Linked DNA regions of Homo sapiens: region 1 is linked to region 2. Evidence: promoter capture Hi-C in 16 types of primary human blood cells and fetal thymus (Javierre and others, 2016). All regions are on one chromosome and are shown on one strand. Each heading gives the region's core, a stretch centred on a gene start or on the middle of the fragment in contact. The rest is flanking DNA. Distances are from core to core; before and after follow the strand shown. Region 1 overlaps RFPL3S (RFPL3 antisense). Region 2 holds the start of SLC5A1 (solute carrier family 5 member 1).

Region 1 (3,680 bases), core at 753-3,252, 320 kb after region 2:
AGGCGCAGTGGCTCATGCCTGTAATTCCAGCACTTTGGGAGGCCGAGGTGGGCGGATCATGAGGTCAGGAGACCGAGACCATCCTGGCTAACATGGTGAAACCCCGTCTCTTCTAAAAATACAAAAATTTAGCCGGGCATGGTGGCGGGCGCCTGTAGTCCCAGCTACTCGGGAGGCTGAGGCAGGAGAATGGCGTGAACCCAGGGGGTGGAGCTTGCAGTGAGCCGAGATCGCGCCACTGCACTCCAGTCTGGGAGACAGAGCAAGACTCTGTCTCAAAAAAAAAAAAAAACAAAAAACCCTCCATAGCCACAGCCTGGAAACCTCTGCCCCAGGACTCTGCCCCAGGACTCTCATTCAAGGTTCACTCTGATCCCCCTTTCCCTCTGACTCCAGATGTCCCTTCCATTAACCCAATGGCTCTGCCTCTTCTCCCAATCCTTCACCAGTGAAAATGCCACTGATTCTCTCTCGTGAGCCCTCTGAAAGTCTTCTCATAAAATACCACTCTTCATCCTATTTTTTTAAGTCCACCTCTAGATCACTAACATTTGTTTTCAGATTTTGGGTTCCACATTCAGAGGAATGTTTCTGTCCTTCCACTTTCCAGTCAAGTCTATTATTGCAGGAGTGGAATCAAGATTCTCCTAAAATGATAAAGCACTATGGCTGTGTTTGCTGTGTATTCTCTGGAAGTGTGTGCCCAGGATTGCCAGTCTTTATTATTTGGTAGAAATAAAAGTAAGTCACATGGTCCTGATATTTACATTTTGAGTTTTAAAAATTTTTATATTGTTTTCATCAAAACTCACTTTAGATATTAATATGTTCATCTTGGTATTTTCTTCTAAATGCTATAAACCTGTGTTTCCCATTATTTGTTTCTCTTAGTGAGCTATATCCTTCTGTGAACCCCTGCTTGCTCTCAGAGGGATCCTAAATACAGAAATGGAGATTTGCATTACTGTTTGGAAAGATCTCATTTTCCGTTCTCAGAGCCTCCTATGTGCCTTAGAGACCACCGTGTCCCTGCTTTAACCCTATGTAATAGAAACAAATAAGATCTTTATTCTCAGAAAATTCAACAGTCTTCAGAGGAACCCACATTCTTACACAACTCTGTCATCCAGGTCTCAGGCAAAGCCCTCATAACTTGGCAAAATTTAAGGTATCACAACTTTACAAGCTTCTATTTGTTATTATAAAGATGTGCCCACTTTTAGTAGAGATTTTAGCAACAGTTGCCTAGTTAATAAAACATAGAAAGTTCTAGAAGAAAGCACATAAAGAACATACTATGTAAAATTTGACCTAAAAATGACCAATCTCACAGGGACACACAGAGCTGAACAACACACACGGGGCTATCGGATGGGGGACGGTGGGAGGAGGGAGGATCAGGAAAAATAACTAATGGGCGCTAGGCTTAAAACCCAGGTGACAAGATAATCTGCACAAGAAATCCCCATGACACAAGTTGACCTATGTAACAAACCTGCACATGCACCCCTGAACTTAACAGTTAAAAAAACTGGTGGGACAAAATGAGATACCATTTCACACCAGTCAGAACGGCTATTACTAAAAAGTCAAAAAACAGCAGATACTGGCAAAGTTGCAGAGAAAAGGGAGCACTTATATACTCTTAGAGACTGTGTAAATTAGTTCAACCATTGTGGAAAGTAGTGTGGTGATTCCTCAAAGAGCTAAAAACAGAAATGTCATTCAACCCAGCCATCCCATTACTGGTTATATGCCCAAAGAAATATAAATCATTGTACCCTAAAGACATCCACACATATGTTCACAGCAGCGCTATTCATAATAGCAAAGACCCAAATGCCCATCAATGACATACTGGATAAAGAAAATGTGGTACATATACACCATGGAATACTATGCAGCCATAAAAGAGAATGAGATGATGTCCTTTGCAGGAACATGGATGGAGCTGGGCGACAGAGTGAGCCTCCATCTCAAAAAAAAAAAAAAAAAAAATTGTGCCGGGCGCGGTGGCTCATGCTTGTAATCCCAGCACTTTGGGAAGCCAAGGCAGGTGGATCATGAGGTCAGGAGATCGAGACCATCCTGGCTAACACGGTGAAACCCCATCTCTACTAAAAATACAAAAAATTAGCCGGGCATGGTGGTGGGCGCCTGTAGTCCCAGCTACTTGGGAAGCTGAGGCAGAAGAATGGTGTGAACCCAGGAGGCGGAGCTTGCAGTGAGCCGAGATCGTGCCACTGCACTCCAGCTTGGGCAACAGAGCAAGACTCCGTCTCAAAAAATAAATAAATAAAAAATAAAATAAAAGTTAAAAAATAAATGACCCGTCTTATTGACTAACCTCACCACGGTCTTATGGATTCAATTAACCTGTTCAATTCTTTTTTGTGTTTACTCCATCAACTTCCTGTGTAACTGCACTCCACAAGGCACATAACCACACTCCACAAGGCACATAAAACCACTGAAGAGAGGAGGCAAATGAGGTCTTTTATCCTCCCCTTCAATTGTCTTACAAAGCTCATGCCTGAGTTTAGAGCATAAGTCATCAGTTTAGTCATAAGTCTTATAACTTCCCAAATGAATGCTTTAACTGCAGCTACAGTACATATCATGTGTTGAGTAGCACTTCTCATGTGCTTTTAAGCAACTCTTTCAATATTGAGAGACAAGATTCAATACTAGGGAAATATTCTATGGTATTACATCATTAATTTTATGTTACAGAGACCATATATTGAAAATGTATAAATAATGAAGTCCAGTCTTACTTTCAATACTGTGTGTAAGTTCATTGAGTGTGCAGACCCCTTAAGCTTGCACTCACCTGTGTGTTAGACACACATTCACAAACACATCACACAGACCTACACATAGACACCTTCTGCCTTGGTGCACACAAATCCACCCCACCTAAAGTGAATATGCCTGTTTCCAGGGATTGCACATAGGTGACAAGAGTTTGTCACCTGAAAAACCAGTTTTAGTTCACCCCAAATTCTCGTTCTTTCCAGGTGTCTTGGATCATGGAGATGGTCTAGATGAAAGTCAGCAATTAAGTTCCACATTTCTTATACATACACTTTTTTTTTTTACACCTGGTGAATGATTCCAGAATACATACCATTTACTGTGTTCCTTGGGGTCACCTGCAATTAGAAGAAAGAAAACACTCTGAGGATGAGATCATACTGTGGGCTGTTTGCACAGGTCTTTCGTTCTCTTAGGGGCTCTTGGTAACCAAGATGGGAAAGAATGTTTAAGTCTAAAGCCCCAACATCTAGAGTAGAGTTCATCTGTAGAAAGCACAATAGCTTTTGTTGAAAAGTATCTTTGTTGGCCGTGCTCAGTGGCTCACGCCTGTAATCCCAGCACTTTGGCAAGCCGAGGGAGGTAGATCACGAGGTCAGGAGATCGAGACCATCCTGGCTAACATGGTGAAACCCTGTCTCTATTAAAAATACAAAAAAAAAAAAAAATTAGCCAGATGTGGTGGCGGGCACCTGTAGTCCCAGCTACTCAGGAGGCTGAGACAGGAGAATGGCGTGAACCCGGGAGGCGGAGCTTGCAGTGAGCCGAGATCGTACCACTGCACTCCAGCCTGGGCTACGCAGCAAGACTCCGTCTCAAAAAAAAAAAAAAATCTTTGTCAAGACCATTTTGAAGTAGCAGTT
Region 2 (3,831 bases), core at 191-2,690:
CTGAGCTCTAAGTCTTGGGAGGCATCCACAGCAGACAGCCCCTGCTTTCAGGTTCCTCGTAAGAATTCCTGCTTCCTTTGGGCAGGCATTATACTGGCCCCAGGACATAGCCTTATATAGTTTGCAGTCCTGGGGGATGTGTGGGGGAAATGGGGAAGACCTGTGGGGATGCTGTCCAAATAATGATTCTTTGTCTGCAGCTTCAGTGGGAAGAACAGTTGCTGATACGGAAGGAGGGGAGGCAGACCTCTGAAGCATTGAGTGCAAAGGAACAGGATGCTCACATTTAGGCAGTGGGTGGTTGTCTAGCAGTGGGCAGGGAGGGCCTGAGGCAGACCAGAGTCCTGGCAGGGTTTCTGTGGTCCTCTGCCTCCCTGCACCTCCCCATCAGAGCAAGGCCCCCCTCTTTGGGAACAGTCACTTTTGGCTGCTCTGTGGCCTCTAGAGCCAGCCCCTGAGAATACCCCACAGCCCTCCCTCTGAACCCTGGCATGGGCTGCAGGGCCAGCTCTGCTGCTGGTTTCCTGTATGACCTTGGGCAAGTCATGCCTCCTCTCTTGGTCATCTCTGTTCTGAGCCCTGGCTTGCTGTTTAGACATGTGTTTCCAGATGGGTGAGCTGAGTCCCCAGGAAGGTCAGGGTTTGATGAACTCCTTGGAAAGGGTTCTCTAGTATCTTCCCTTCTGCTGCCTCTGGAGGGCCCTGCATCAATACTGGGAGAGGGACAGGGCAAGGAAATAGCTCCCGGTGAGATCCCTTCCCCCAGTCTCAGTTTCTTCCTCTTTACAGTGGGGGTAACAGTGGACCTGGGGGCTGCAGGCTGTGGAGGGGGAGTCAGGAATGTGGGTGGGTGGGTGGCTGTCCTTGTGGCCAAGAGATTAGGATTGTGCTGGTTTTTTTCCAGTGACACCCAGCAACTCTCTGTCCTCTCAAGAATGTTCTCCAGGGAGAACAAGACTTGACTGATTCTTCAGAAGAGTGCTGCACCCATTTTACAAGCGGACAAGCCAAGTCCTTAGAAGGCATGGGACTAGTCCAAGGATGGGTGGCAGGTGATCTGAAGCCTCTAGGCTCCTAGCCCCAGGTGGCCTGTTCCCTCAATGGAGCCACTCCAGCTCTGGCAAGGGCAGGTGTGGTGGCGCTGCTGGTGCCTGCTGTGGGAGTACAGTGGGCCTTTGTGCCAGGCGGGCACCACCCCCTGGCTGGCCCCTCCCCATTCGCAGGACAGCTCTTACCTGCCGGGCCGCCGCCCCAGCCAACAGCTCAGCCGGGTGCTCCTTCCTGGGCTCCACGCCCGGAGCTGCTTCCTGACGGTGCAGCCGCAAGGCATCGCAGGGGCCCCGCGCTACTGCCCTGCTCCCTCAAAGTCCCAGGTCCCCTCCCCTGGTGCTGATCATTAACCAGGAGGCCGTATAAGGAGCTAGCGGCCCTGGCGAGAGGGAAGGACGCAACGCTGCCACCATGGACAGTAGCACCTGGAGCCCCAAGACCACCGCGGTCACCCGGCCTGTTGAGACCCACGAGCTCATTCGCAATGCAGCCGATATCTCCATCATCGTTATCTACTTCGTGGTAGTGATGGCCGTCGGACTGTGGGTATGCAGCGGGTTCTGGGATGCGGGTGGGGAGGGTGCGCACAGAGGAGGAGCAATGGCCTCGCTGAGCTGCAAGGGGCAGTAGGCTTAAGTGTCGGTGGAGGGGAGAGGAAATGACTTGGAAGCACTTTAGAAGCACTCAGAGGCACAGCATGAAGGGAGGAGGGCAAGCAAGGATGAGCAGAAGTGAGAAGGGTGCCCAGGGCAGCCTGCCAGGAAGGACCAAGGAGGATACCTGAGCCTGTGAGCAGAGAAGGAAGGTGGGGGTTTGAAGAGACCGCTGGAAAGTGTAAGGGGCAGGAAAGCGGCTGCTTAGAGCTACAGGGAGGGCTCTGGGGCTTGGGAGATGAGCCTCTAGCAGGTGACTACTGTCCTACCTTTTAGTCATCCAGTTTCAGATGGGAAAGAAATGGTGTGGAGTGGGAAAGCCACAGCCTCTGCCAGCCCCAGAGATGGGGATGCTGAGGTGGCAGACAGAGGGATGCTGACCCATGCCCCACTCCTGGGAGAGGCTAACCCAGAGGCCTTGTGCATGAGGATCCCAGGGGCTGGATCAAGTTAGAGATGAGAAAGATGGGTGGAAAAGGAGGAGGAGGAAGACCTGGGGGTGACCTGGCACTGGGGAGAGGGAAATGTGTGTGTCTCCTTTTGGGACTCTGGGGACACAGCAAACCAGAGAAACTTGTTCTCAGCCACCTGGAACATGGGCATTTCACTTATGACAGACTGTGGCAGGCCCAACAACTAGAGGAGGAGATGTTTTAAAAGTGTGCAGGACCGACTGTGGTGGTTCACTCCTGTAATCCTAGCACTTTGAGAGGCCAAGGTGGGAGGATTGCTTGAGTCCAGGAGTTCGAGATCAGCCTGGGCAACATAGTGAGACTCTGTCTCTACAAAAATAAAAAAAATTACAAAAAATATATAAAATGTTTGCAGATGTTCCAGCCATTCTCGTGATTGTTATGGAGGTGGAGGTGATAAGCCCAGGGAGGCTGCTGTAGCAGCTGGTGATTGTGTTGAACTCTTTTGACTTAGAGGAGAGGAAGGTAGGCATGAACACTTCTGTGGACACAGAGCTTTTTCAGGGACAAAAGGAAGTGTTTTTTTTTTTTTTTCCAAAGGAATTGTAGAAACTAGATGTGGCAGAATGCCTCCCAAGTGTCACATGGGGTCAGTATGGCTGACTTTTCCTCAATACTCTCAGCTTCCCAGACATAGTGGAAACTGACCAACTAGGAGCCAGGATACTCAAGTTCACTACTGGCTTTCACATGGTTCAAATCATGGAACATTGGGTAACTTCCCTCAGCCTCCAGTTTACTCAACTTTAACATAGGTACACTCTTATCTATTCTAATGACTCCCCCATGGTTGTGGTGAGGATACGCAGAGGTGAATCTGAAAGCTGTTTATGGACTCTAGGATTAAAAAAAACTACTATTGTCATTTACCTTCCATGGTATGATCTGGGCTCTGAACAATGTTTATCCTTTTAAGTAAAATGGGCAGCAGTGGTCAGGTGGGTAGTATATTTTTACAAAAGCCACAAGACAGGGAAGGCCAGAATGCTAATCCCCGTTTTACAGAAGAGGAAATTGAAGCCTCATGTGGTTGTGATTTGTCTAAGGTTACAATAGATGAAATTGTTCCTGGAACTCAGATCTCTTGACTCCTGATTTTTTATGGTACCAGGCACTCTGCCACTGTGACTGACTTCCTCCTTCCACCCCACCCCAGCTTATAAGTGCTGGAGCCAAGGTGTGAGCCCGTCATCTGCTGGCTATACAGTACTGCCTGTTTCCCAGACAATCTCTGATAATATCGGTTCTCTTAACCAATCTCATTTTAGCCCTGCCAGTCTAGTAGGTGTTTATACTTTTTAAATGGTGTTTACATGTTTCAAGTATCTGTGAATCAGTATCACTTGTCCTGCTAAATGCTACTTAATAGCCTGTTTAGTATTTGTCTATGTTTAATCTTCCCCCATTAGACAATGCCTCTGGACCCTGGTCATTTAATGCATTGGATTTCTTCCAGTTTATCCTCCTCTGTCTGCTATTAAAGTGGCAAGAGTGGCTTGATTCAGGGGTGGCCACTCTGACTCCTTCATGATCTCTGGGCTGCACAGGCAGAATGGTCCAGGCCCATTGTGTTTCTTCAACTTAGAAAAGACCCACACAGTCAATGTCCCTCTGTCACCTTCTCTATCTCTTCCAACATTATTTGGTTCTGTTTT

The links. The method cuts DNA at HindIII sites, captures the fragments that hold promoters and counts their contacts. A CHiCAGO score of 5 or more calls a contact.
Region 1: a fragment that was not itself captured here is called in contact with the fragment with the promoter of SLC5A1 in region 2 in 2 of 17 cell types (M1 macrophages and M2 macrophages); the score reaches 5.8 in M1 macrophages.

What each region holds. Positions count from the first base shown.
Region 1 is chr22:32,364,560-32,368,239 of GRCh38, forward strand. It overlaps RFPL3S (RFPL3 antisense), which reads right to left. Exons shown (of 5, transcript NR_104232.1): 4 at 3,131-3,155. Among named protein-coding and RNA genes, the nearest start is that of RFPL3S, 4.9 kb to the right of the region's middle. The HindIII fragment of the contact is 1,636 bases long and covers 1,185-2,820 here.
Region 2 is chr22:32,041,821-32,045,651 of GRCh38, forward strand. SLC5A1 (solute carrier family 5 member 1) reads left to right here and starts at 1,441. Exons shown (of 15, transcript NM_000343.4): 1 at 1,441-1,596. The coding sequence starts at 1,462. The HindIII fragment of the contact is 8,724 bases long and covers 1-3,831 here.